2 separate regions of the Homo sapiens genome follow, and region 2 is linked to region 1. The links are contacts of gene promoters, found by promoter capture Hi-C in blood cells and fetal thymus (Javierre and others, 2016). All regions are on one chromosome and are shown on one strand. The core of a region is centred on a gene start or on the middle of the fragment in contact, and the rest is flanking DNA. Distances in the headings are between cores, read along the strand shown.

The links. The method cuts DNA at HindIII sites, captures the fragments that hold promoters and counts their contacts. A CHiCAGO score of 5 or more calls a contact.
Region 2: a fragment that was not itself captured here is called in contact with the fragment with the promoter of CRTC2 in region 1 in 1 of 17 cell types (neutrophils); the score reaches 5.3 in neutrophils.

Annotation. Positions count from the first base shown.
Region 1 is chr1:153,955,923-153,962,286 of GRCh38, forward strand. It overlaps CRTC2 (CREB regulated transcription coactivator 2), which reads right to left and starts at 2,690. Exons shown (of 14, transcript NM_181715.3): 1 at 2,423-2,690. The coding sequence starts at 2,575. SLC39A1 (solute carrier family 39 member 1) reads right to left here. Exons shown (of 4, transcript NM_001271958.2): 3 at 6,298-6,364; 4 at 3,188-4,832. The coding sequence ends at 4,176. RefSeq lists enhancers at 1,770-1,819, 1,880-2,099, 2,110-2,159, 2,720-2,919 and a silencer at 2,320-2,469. The HindIII fragment of the contact is 11,751 bases long and covers 1-6,364 here.
Region 2 is chr1:153,365,123-153,371,486 of GRCh38, forward strand. No RefSeq gene overlaps it. Among named protein-coding and RNA genes, the nearest start is that of S100A12, 7.3 kb to the right of the region's middle. The HindIII fragment of the contact is 2,641 bases long and covers 2,128-4,768 here.

The sequences.
Region 1 (6,364 bases), core at 1,440-3,939:
GAGCTCCCGGGCTACTCACAAGGGGGAGTGCCTATTAGGAACCTCTGCTTTCTTTCCAGATGCGTCCAGGACTAATTGAGAGATTAAGAGGAAGGCCACAGGTGGATGTCACAGAGCCATTACTGCCAGCCTCTTTCCTTCCCACTCTGGAGAGCACAGGCTTCTGGGCTCTGCCACTTGCCCAGCCTCAGGAAGGCTACACAAAGCCTGCACCTCCCAAACTAGAACATCCAAGGAATAGCAGCTCTCCTAGCTGGAAAAACAGCACCAAAACCAAGGGACATTCTTCCACTGAATCCTAAGGCTCTTGAATTGGCAGGGAAGCCTGGAGAAGGAGGGTGGACAGAGAGCAGCAGCCCACTCCAGCATGGGCCAGGGCCATCTTCCTGGTCTCATCCTCACTTTGGGGAGCTATGTCTGGCATAGGCGTAAGACAGCCTGGCATGGGTTTAGCCTGTGTACAGACATCCTGTCTCTGTGAGAGGTGAGCATCTATTTCCAAGGCTCAGCCCCTGCGACCAGCCAAATAAACAGGCCCAGGGCAAGGCCATGGGGAGGAGGGCAGCTGAGGAGGGGCAAGTTCTAAGAGCTTCCAGGGTCACACTCTTGTACAGAAGCCAACATCAGAACTGACATTCTGTTCCAGGAGGTCAGCCTAGTGAGCACTGTGCTGACCTCTGGACCACTTGAAGACCACTTGAGGTCTCATATATGGCAACCCCAGTATCTCAGTGGTATAGCCTCCCATGGCCATCTCTGTCTCAAATGAGCCCTCCCACCTGGCCAGATAACAGGCTGAGTCCCAGATCTCTTGTCCCTAGCTCTAGACTTTTGGGTCCCCTGGCCATGTATGCCCACTAGACTTTTCTGTGTAGCTGAGAAATTAACCAATAGGAGCAAGGTGGGTAGAAGGGGCCTTTTAAGAGATCGAGGCACCGTAAAGAGAAGCCCCAGCTTTTGAGTTTCGCACAGCCTTTCTTTGCACATACGAGCCCTAAGATCCCACCATGCCTCTGCTAGAATCACAGTCCTGAGGGCAGGGCCTCACGCTATCAAGATCAGCCTCCCATCTTCCTGTCTCTGTCCCCAACATGATGAAAAAGCTCCTAAAGGGGAGCAGTCTACAGTTAGATAATAATCCTCACAATGGTTACAGTGGGTTATGCACACACATGCATTTAAGTGTGCACATGCGTGCACAGACACCCTCCCAGATTTGCCTCCCCACCTAACTTCTGACTCCCACAAACTAGGGCACATAGTCCCTAGAGACTCAAAGGGGAAAGGACGAGAAAAAAAAAAAAGTAACAGAGTCAAGGGGGATACACACAAAAATACAACCAGAGTCACAGTCATAAATGCAACCACAGTCAGACCAGCAGAAAAAGGCTAGAGATGTTGTAGTAATGTTCCACCATCAATCCTTAAATTCCTTCTAGCTCTCTGCCATGAGGAATCATTGCAATATCCTTACCTACTGTTGTTTTAGAAGAATGTGTCCCTAAATTAAGACTGCATACCACCTAGGCGGACTCCTACCCCTTGGTCCCTCTGACCTCCAGCCTTGGAAAGCAAGAAACCAAGCCAGGGGGGCTTCAGAGGCAGCCTGGCAGAGGCCTGAAAGTTCTTTCAAGAACTCCTAGGAATGAATATTCTCAACACATAGAAGACCCTCCAAGGCACCCTACACACTAACCCACAAAGCAGCCAACTCCCTAGAAAGCTCAGCAAACCATAGAGTTCCACACAACTTATGGTCGGACGGTTACCCAGTTGTCGGATTCAAAACCCTACCTCTCCTCCAAGGAGGCCAGGACAAAACACCAAGCAATGGACCTCACCTTCATTCACGTCAGGAAACCACAAGAAGTATTTGAAAAAGGAAGCAAAAGGACGGGACGCAGGAGGGGACTTCCTGCCCCACTATACACAGCACCGCTCGTTCAAACCACTCAAGGGGCCCTTTCCCGGGGGCACCAAAGCGCAGAAGGCAGAGGGACCAGTTTGGAGGAGATCACAAACTCAGAGGAGCCAGGTTACAGACAAGCAGCCCTCCTCCCAGGCCATACCCCAATACCAGGCATGCTTCAGTAGCGTCCTCGAGGGGACTCCGTCAGGGATGCACAAGGACCACTCACCTCCTACCTCCGCCGGACTTCATCTCCCCTCTCCGCCCACTCCCACCTCACGTACTCGGCCCCCAGTCGCCTCTACACCCCGAACCTCTCCGGTGTTTCGGTCTCCCCCGGCAAAATCCTTCTTCCTGCCCCTCGGCCCTCAACCTGCGCCTCCCAAACGGCGGCGCCCGCGTCCCCTGCTCTGTTCCGCCTCCTTCGCTGCGGCGCCCGCCCCCGCCCCGCCTCTCCGGTCTCCGCTCCGTAACTGCTCAGCTCTGCTCCGGCTCCCCGGCGCGGCCCCTCACCCGGGTGGAGCCGATGTCCATCATCACCTCCTCGAAGGCCGCCGTCTCCTCGGCCTGACGCTGCTTCTGCAGCGCAATCTTCTCACTAAATTTGCGCGGATTGGAAGCCGAGGCCGTGGCCGAACCAGGCCCGTTCGCCCCCGACGTCGCCATCTTCCTTCCCCGTCCCTCCCTGCCACCCTCCCAGTACCAGCCGCGGCCTCCGCCGCGGCCTCGGCCCGGCTCCTCCAGCCGTAGCCACCGCCGCCTCAGCGAGCACCGCGAACCCGGCCCCAGCCTAGCCCTGACCTGTTGCGCGCGGGGGCCGCCGGGAATTGTAGTTTGTTTACGAGACTCCTTCACATCCCCAGTCACGCAGCACTAGGAGGAAACGGACTCCACTTCCCAGCAGCCCTGCTGACTCCGGAAACTGGGGACTTGGCTCCACCCTCTCGGCTACTCCCTGAGAGGTGCAAGCTGGGAAGAGTAGTTCTAAATTAGCCCTGAGACTACGAACGGAAAGGAGAGAGGGATTGAAGAGAGAAGAAAGGAAGAGGGAGGGGAGGGAAGAGAAGGGAAGCCGAGGGGTGGAGACCGGGAAAGAAGTACCAAGACACAAAGGAGGAAAAATTAGGTCATCTTCAGGGAAGGGGACTATCGGGTCCTGAGTGAAAACAGTGAGACCAAGAATCTTAAAACAGCTGTAAACATCTGGGACTCAGGCCCTCTCAGGCTGGCCACATGCCCACCCCTTTCCCAAAACAAACGAATCAGATACTGTACAGATGTCTAGAAACATCTTTTATTTGGGTAACAGGTCCCAAAACAGGTCAGTTAATAAAATAGATTCTAAAGAATATGTCCCTATGCACAGCCCTCCCTCCCCAAAAATAACGCTGGGGGTAGGCATTGCCCTTCCCCCTTGGGCTCCTCGGGTGTATTTAAAAAAATGTTTTGGCAGCTCAGTGTTTATCATCTGGGCATGGGACACCATGTCCATGTCCCCATATTCCTAGGGTACAGCAGCAGTAGATGGCTGCAACAACCTTCCTCCTACCCCAGCCCAGAAAATATTTCTGCCCCACCCCAGGATCCGGGACCAAAATAAAGAGCAAGCAGGCCCCCTTCACTGAGGTGCTGGGTAGGGCTCAGTGCCACATTACTGTGCTTTGAGAAAGAGGAAGGGGATTTGTTTGGCACTTTAAAAATAGAGGAGTAAGCAGGACTGGAGAGGCCAGAGAAGATACCAAAATTGGCAGGGAGAGACCATTTGGCGCCAGTCCCCTAGGAGATGGGAGGAGGGAGATAGGTATGAGGGTAGGCGCTAAGAAGAGTAGGAGGGGTCCACTCCAAGTGGCAGGGTGCTGAAATGGGCTAGGACCAACAGGACACTGACTCTAGGTTTATGACCTGTCCATACCCGTTCCACAGCAGCTGGGTACCCACCTCCAGCCTCCCATGTGAGCCTGTCCTTATGTATAGTGTCCAACCTCTGATTCTAGCAGTCAAGTGTCTTCCCCAATCCTAATGTCCCCTGATATGTCTCTAGCGACTTGACCATCTCTTGTTCCTTGGGACTGGGGCCAGCCTCTTGTCTGCCCACTTCCCTCTCATTAGTCAGATAGCCCCAAAGGCTCTATCTTTAGCTCCCAGAGAACTTTTTGGTCCTCAGTATTTCCCTTCCCCTTTCCTTCCTATTCCCCACAACTGGGGGAGGGAAGGGAGAACAGGGGCACCTGATCATCAATCTCCCCTGCCCCTCTCTTGAAGCCCCCTAGATTTGGATGAAGAGCAGGCCAGTGAGCAGGGCAAAGCCTGCTAGGAGCAGAATGACCTTGAGGATCCTTTGCTCAGAACTGGCCAGCTCCTGGGGCAGGATTTCCAGAAAGGTGATATAGAGAAAGGTGCCAGCTGCCATGCCCTCTAGCACAGACTGGGCCAGCTGGTGCAGAGGTCCTGCCGACTCTGCCAGAGCTGCACCCAGCCCGATGCCTAGAGGTGTCATGCATGAGAAGAGGATCCCACAGCCAGCCACCACCTGTGCCCTAAGGTGGCTCTGCAACAGCCGCAGGGACAGGCTGACAGCCAGGATGCCCTTGTGGAGCAGCAAAGCCAGGCACAGCTCCATGGCCCGAGCCCGGTCTCGCTGCAGCCCTACCGCCAGCCCCTCGAACACGGAGTGGAGGGCCAGGGAGAACACCAGTACACAGGCACGCAAGGCTGAGGGGGTTGCTGGGGCTCCACTCGCCTGTGGGACCCCTGGCCCATCATGCCAATGCTGCGGCCCACCATTCACTGTTCCCAGCAGAGCCCTTGTTTCCTCCAGAGGTGACGGCCCTGACTGCTCCTTGTAAGCCAGTGTGATCTGCTCCATCACCAGGACCAGGAAGAAGCCCATGGCCAGGATGAACTCTTGCAGTGGGAACTGGAGCTGTGGGCAGAAGCAGCAGCAAAATGTTCAGGGAAGGAAGAGTGAGATGCAAAATCTGGTGAAAGCCCAGTTACACAGACCTAGGGTCTGACACAGACACAGGGCTACTCTCAGTCACACAAAGATAGAGTGAATTGGTAACACTGACACAGAATGATACGTACACACAGATTATGGTGTCACTCACAGTGTTACGTGTAGACCAAAGTTTCTCAGCTTTGGAACTATTAACATTTTGGGGCCAGGGGCAGTGGCTCATGCCTATAATCCCAGCACTTTGGAAGACCAAAGTGGGAAGATCACTTGAGGTCAGGAGTTTGAGACCAGCCTGGCCAACATGGTGAAACCCTGTCTCTACTAAAAATACAAAAATTGGCAGGGTGTGGTGGTGGATGCCTGTAATCCCAGCTACTCAGGAGTCTGAGCCAGGAGAATCACTTGAACCCAGGAGCCAGAGATTGCAGTGAGTCGAGATTGTGCCACTGCACTCCAGCCTGGGCAACAGAGCAAGACTCTTTCTCAAAAACAAAACAAAACAAAAACAAACAAACAAAAACATTTTGGGCCAGATAATTCTTTGTCATGGGAGCTGTCTTGTGCACTGTAGATTGTTTAACAGCATTTCTGATCTCTACTTACCAGATGCCAATAGCAGGCACAATGTTCCCTCCATCCCCCTCCCCATTGTGACAACTAAAAATATCCCCAGACATTACCAAATGTTTCCTGAGGGGCAAAGCCACACTCCTAGTTGAGAGTCACTGATGTAGACATACATGAAAAGGTCACACATTGCCCATCTCCCCAAATACTCATACATAGAGCCACATATCACAGGACATTCAGGCTTATACGCAGTCACACGGAAACACAGGTCACTCAGTCACAGACACACAAAGGGATACATCCAGTGTTACTTCCTCAGTTTTAGAGGAAAAAAGGAAAGAGCCCAGGATGACTTTCCTGCCCCACTATCCAACGGCCTCAGTTTTTCCTATAATAAACCAAGTCCTATGCCGTGGACTTGATCATTCCTCACAGCCCACTTCCTTGGGCCAAAGCCTAAAAAGGTTAGCAACACCAAGACCCAGGGAATCGCTTCCTATCCTTCTCAGGCCTACAGAGACCTCTATCTCCAGCCCTTTAGGAAAGTGGTGAGAGAGTGAAGATGATTCTTGGAGCACTTGCTGGTAGCTAGAACTGAGAACCCATAGAGCAAGTCACACACCTGAGAAAAAGTGTCTTACTGTCTCAACGGGAATGTAGGGGTCACACAGGGAATGGGGAAGGGGGAGGGAACACATAGAAAGAATTATGCCCCATAACCAAAAATCACAATTCATACCACATGCCAAAAGTCTTCCACACAGTCATGGAGTGGCACATGAATCAATCTCCACAAACCAACACTCCCAGAGGTGTGTGATTCCCCTCCCGCAAGTCACATGCCCAGGCCAGTGCTCACCGTCACGTGCAAGGCTGCCAGGGCCTCATCTATGGCAGCCAGGTAGTCAGGCAGCAGGTCCAGGAGA
Region 2 (6,364 bases), core at 2,198-4,697, 590 kb before region 1:
TCTATCTGTGTTTTATGGGATGGGTTTGGGGTGGGAATGAGACCCCAGGCACATGGCCTGTGGGGAGTCTGTTGCAAGAGCCCAGGTGAGCACTTAAGAGTCCAAGCGGTGCTTCTCAGAAAAAGTAAAGCTAGAGCCTCAAACTACCCCAAGCTTCACCTCAATTAGGAGAGGTGTGACTGCAACATGATAAATAAGATCATTTCATGCTGTTTGCCAAGACCTTTCCAGGAAGGAAGATCTCAGCTTTCACCAGCCCGGTGAGCCAACCTTACACAACCCTGATGCAGCCCTGCCCTGAAGTAAGCTCCATAATCCAACCCCAATGCACTGCCCCCTCTTCCGGCAGTTGCTTAAAACATATATTTTAGAAAGCCCCGTGTCATGGATTTTGACACTCCAATTACCAAAGTGACAGCAGGACTGAAACAACTGGTTTCTCAAGTCCTATTGCCCCTTGGGGCTCTGACCTGAAACAGTTTCTCTATCCTAAGACGACAATCAGTCCCTGGATGATTAGATCACCCCTGTCTTCAGAGATCCACTCCCAGACACAGGAGACAGGGAAAGGGAGCCCCTGAGCGACAGCCAGCTGGCCTCCATCCTGAGTGTCCCACGGAATGCAGAGTCCCAACTAAACACAGAGCACCGCTATTGGTGCTGGCTCAAAACAACTACATCTAGGCTTTCCTTTTCTGCATGAGTTCTCCCACTCTTGCCCACGTACCCAAAATTGCTGCATGCAGACTGTACAGTGAGGAAGGGGTTTGTTGCCAAGACCCGAGGTGAAGAGGAAGAGGAGGGTGGCCACCAGCAGGGGCGGCAGGGGCAGCAGGATTCCAGCATGCAGCCCGCACCTTCAGCATCCCCCGCCTTGACTTGGAGTCTGATCCTCCCTCCTCTCCCCTGCCTCTCCCCCAACCTTTTCCCTCTTGATTTGCCCCCTCTCTTTCTCTCTTTACCTTTTCTACATCCTCTCCCTGAGCTTTTTCTCACTTACTGCCTTCTGCCCTCCTGTCCTCTGTGGTAAAATGCAGTTCTATGTGGCTGAGTGCTTTCAGGGAAGCAACTAGGGGTCATATCTAACCTTTGTGAAGTAACTACGGGTCATATCTAACCAGAAATGGCTCCCTCAAAACACAAGATGTCCCAGTTTCGAGTCTACTCCTCATAATGAAAGGAGACAATCACAAGGGAAAATTGTTGAAGGTCTTGGGGAATCAAGTCTGGAAAAGGTAAGCAAGGGAGCCATGACAGCTGCCTTCAAATATCACCAGGGTCCAGGGAGAGGAGCCCACCCCCGGGGGCAAGGCCTCCAAACCCGCTGTGGTGTGGCTCATTTGCTGCCAGGCCCTCCCACTCTCCCAGCACTGCCTCAAGCATCGCCCTCGCATTCTACTCCAGGTGTTCATTCCCTCTGGTAGGAAACAGCTCCATGCAAAGAAGCCAACATTCATCAGCTATTCAGTCTGCAAATACTCATTGAGTGAGAACTAAATGCAGAGCACTGTTATAGGTGCTGGGTCAACAAAACTGCGTCTAGGGGAGAGTCAGACAAGAGGCAAGTCAAGAAATAGATAGCCCAGATCATTTTAGATGGTGATGAGTTGCACAAAGAAAATAAAGGGGACATGCTAACAGGACTGCTTTGTGGGCCGGCAGCCAGGCAAGGAAGCAACACTGGAAATGAGGCCTGGATGACAAGAAGCCATCTCAACGAAGATTTCACCCCAAACACATTGGAGAGCCTTTGGAGGGTTTTAATCAGGCAGGTGATGTGATATGATGTATCTGGAGGAGAATATTCGGCAGCTGTGTGGAGGGTAGCCTGGAGAACCCCAGAGTAGAAGCATGAGGACCAGTTAGGAGGCTGATGAGCCTGGTCTTATGTCAAATAGTGTGCTAGATTCCCTGCCTTCACAGAGCCCTCAGTCCAGTGGGGGCACAATTACCAGATATTTTCTCTATAATACAATGTTGTGGGCAAAAGACAAGCAAAGGCAGATGATAAGCACAAGATGCCCAGAGAGTACAGAAGGCACTTTTTGCCGTCTTATTGGCTGTGGTGTGGGGGAGGGGGTAGAGGGGAGCCGGGGGGCAGGGGTAGAGGGAAGGAGAGAGAAGGAAAGCTTGCTTGGACTAATGCCCAAGCTGAGTTTTCAGAGGGCAAGAATTGCACTTCCATGTGCCCAGTGCTGTGTTAGGCAATAAAAGAAATCAGAGAAACATAGGAAGTAAGGGCTCTTGCCCTCCAGATTTTTAGTTTGCTTTATCTTAAAACTTGAAAGGCTTCTTGTGTTGGCCAAGTCAAAATGATGAGACCTAGCCATTCTCACATCAGGGGCTTCTGATAGTCATTTTGTTGAGCCCAGATCCTTCTCCTGAGCTCCAAGAGCCTGATGCACAGGCTGGCATGGCTTGGCTTGTGGTGTACTGGAAGCCTGCCTGAAATATCCTCCTGAGGGCAAAGTATTGCACATATAGCACCCAAAAGAGTGTTATTGGTGTCCTTTATCACTCAGTAATGCCTTTGCCCAGACAGCTTTGTCAGGCTCATCATTCCAGCAGCAGCCAGTGAGCAGAAGAGGGAGGTCAGCCCCAAATTGGAAGGGGCCTAAAGTCTACTCTTGATGGAAATACATGAGGAAGATATGAACAGGTGAGCTCCCTGGAGGATGTGACGGTTGAGTCAGGCCATGGTGTATAAGCAGGTGTTCTAGAGCCAGAGAAGGGCCCAGGTAGCCTAGTGTCTGCAACAGAGCAGACACAAAAAAATGTTTGTGAATGAAGGGATGAAAAGGCACTTCAGACAAAGAGAACAAGAGGACAGCAGGAGCAAAACCCAAGAAGTTTCAAAGCCGTGGAGAAACTAGAGACTGTTCTAGAGTGGCTGGAGAATAGGGCCTCTGGGGGTGGACAGATGGTGACAGTGAGACAGGGCCTCCAGAAGCAACAGGGCCAATCCCTGGGCTCTGTGGATCTAACAGTGCTTGTGTTCATTTGCTTGTTCCACGACACCAGCCACAGTCACAGGGTCTAGTCTCTGTGTATTCATGAAGGGACTGGAGATCACTTGTGCAAACAGCACACTATATACATGAAAAAACTGAGGCTCAGAGAAGGGAAGCCATTCGCCCAAACTCACAGAGCCAAGCAGTTGAGCTGGGAGTCTAACCAAGCTCATTTGATTCCAAGTCAAGGGCCCTTGTCATTGTCCTTAGGTGCCGCTGACTGATGGATTTTGACCAAGGTTAGCAGCCCTTAAAATTTTTCTAGCCATGATTTAAGTTCAATTTGTGGTTCAGTGGGCTATTTGGAAACAAAATTACAGCTGGTGAATGTTTTCACAATAGCAAATGTGCTGGACTTTTGCTCTCATCGGTTAGTTGTTGGTTTTTTTGTTGTTTTTTTTTTTAACAGATTCTAATACTACTATATATATCAGAAGTGGTCCCAAATCAAGGTAAGTGCATCAAGGGAGTGGCCTAGTTTGCAGAACAGCTTGGTCTAGTTCAAAGGCCTTTAGAGGAAGATATTGCATAACTTCCCTTGGTTCCTTATCTTACACTGGTCAACTTTAACTATCCAAGCCACCCCTAAATATAACCTCAGTCTGCTTTGGTTTAAAATAATCTATACCTATTGTGCTGTGGCAGAGGGTGGGTCAGCTACAATCGTTACCTCCTGTCTAAATTATTATCTTACTGTTATTGCTAATGTTTGTTGAGTGCTTACTCTGCATCAGATACTGTGCCAAGTGCTTTCCATGTGCTATGAGATGACCTAATCTTGGCCAGTCGCATGGCTTACGCTTGTAATCCCAGCACTTTGGGAGGCCGAGGCAGGCAGATCACGAGGTCAGGAGATCGAGACCATCCTGGCTAACGCGGTGAAACCCCGTCTCTACTAAAAATACAAAAAAATTAGCCTGGTGTGGTGGCGGGCACCTGTAAACCCATCTACTCGGGAGGCTGAGACAGGAGAATGGCGTGAATCCGGGAGGCGGAGCTTGCAGTGAGCCAAGATCGCGCCACTGCACTCCAGCCTGGGAGACAGAGCAAGACTCCATCTCAAAAAATAAAAAAATAAAAAAAGGAAAAAAAGGAGATGACCTAATCCTCTCACCAACTCTGGGAGAGGGGTGCTGTGGTTATCCCCATGCTACTGATGGGGAAATTGAGGTTTAAAGATTCTAAGTAACTTGTTCAAGGTCTCACAGTTAGTAAGTGGCAATGCTAGGATTTGAATACAGAAGCATAACTTCTAGCCTCACACTCTCGACTGCTACTCTTTAGCACCAAGGGACATCCTCCTTCCTACCCTCTCACTAAGTGATGTTCTCCTTCTAGACCCTGCACCAAGTTCCCCTCTATCCAACTGAGGTCTCTCAGAGCACTAACACTGGGTGACACCTGAGTATTCACCTAGTCTAAAACTTTCCAAAATAGATGTTTAAAATTCCTTTGAATTCTTCAAAAATAAAGAAAACACAGACCCAGAGAGGCAAAGTGATTTGGCCAAGGTCATGCAGTGAGGGAAGGCTTTCCCCAAATGCTCTCACATTCTCATTCACATTTGGTGATAGAAGCCTTCCAGGCTTGGGCCATTCCAGGACTCCCTTCCCTGGGTCACACATTCCTTCCTTTTCTGCCAATCCCACTTCACCCCCATCTTCAGGCTCTCCCCTCAACCCCATCTACAGGCTTCTACTTTCTCGCACACTTTCCACACAACTGCAATTGTTTCCTTTGATGGGGGTGGTCAGCAAAGCTTCACCCCAAGACCATGTGCCCAGGACTCATCATTTGTCACTTGTCCTGAATCCCAGCTTCCCATACACTGTCTCCACATGGCTTCACAGTAAATAAGCCGAAAGTCAAACCCACTCTCCTGCAGTAAAAAGCCCCCTTTCCCACTTTTCCTCACATCTGTCTTGCCTGACCTCCAGCAGGGTATCTAACCTTTCTAAAATTCTTCAATTTTGCCACCTGGCCTGCCCCTGCTGCTGAAGAAGATCCAGAGGTGGAACAGGAATTAAAAGAAATTAAAGAATGTGTAAGCAGAAACTCAGTTGTATGTAAGAAAACCCAATTCCCCCTGAGAAGGAGAAAGAGCTGGAGTCCTTTAAAAATTAACTGCCTGTTTTTCTGTAGCTAGTGAGCCTTATCTTTCCTCCTTTCCCAGGCATTATGAAGACCTGTTTCTCTAGCTATGCAGCTGCAAGGTCACTAGACAAATAAACTCAAGTCATAAAACGTGTTTTTCCTTGAAAAGTAAGAAATGATGTAACGCATGTCTCAATTAATTGAAATCCAGTGTATTACAGTTCTAGTACATCTCACACATATGACCATGTTTCAAGTCCTCAGTAGTCATGTATAGATCGTGGCAACCATATTGGACCCTGAAGCCCTAGATCATTTCAGAAATGGAATGGGGCTGGACTAGGGTGGTGATAATGGTGGTGACAAGGGGTGGTCAGATTATCAATACATTTTGAAGGTGGAAATGACTTTCCAGTGACTTCTGCTGATTTCATAGTTCAGGGCTCAGTCCTTTGAATGTTAATCCAACTGGACCGGTTCACCTAAATAATTAATAAATATCCTCCTCAACCCCATTGGTCTCTCTTATTTTTTAAAATATCCCGCTACAGAGGGAGCAGCCACGGGAGGGTCTACCAGAGCCCAAGGCTCTGCCCCTGCTGCCTCTTCTGTGTGTATCTTGATGTTCCCACTAAACAGGGACTGGGGCTGACTTCTGATTTCATGCTCCCCATCAGTGCCAGACCTAACTTTAGTGGTTGGTTGGAGGAGTCAGGGGTTGGAGGACAGGGAGGTTTCCAGTGACTTCCGCTGATCAGATTGAATTGCACTTTTCACCAGGGCCCAACAGCTGTCCCTGAGGCCATGCTTCTTCATATTTTCCCTGGGGCCAGTTATAGAGAGTCAAGCCAACAGACTTATCAATTTCCACACATTTATTCATTTAAGAAATGTTTATCAAACATTGTCCTAGTGTCCTCATGCTACTATAACAAAATATAGAATGGATAATTTATAAACAACACAAATTTATTTCCCACAGTTCTGGAGGCTGAGAAGTCCAAGATCAAGGTGCTGGCAGGTTCAGGTGCCTGGTGAGGGCTGCTCTCTGCTTCCAAAATGGCGCCTTGTTGCTGCTTCCTCCAGAGAGGAGGAGCACTGTGTCCTCACATGGTGGAAGGTTTAAAAGGGGAAAACTTGCCTCCTCAAGCCCTTTCATAATGCATCAACCCATTCAAAAGGGTGGAGGCATCATGGCCTAATCACCTCCTAAACCCCAACCTCTTAATACTCACATTGGGGATTAAGTTTCAACATGA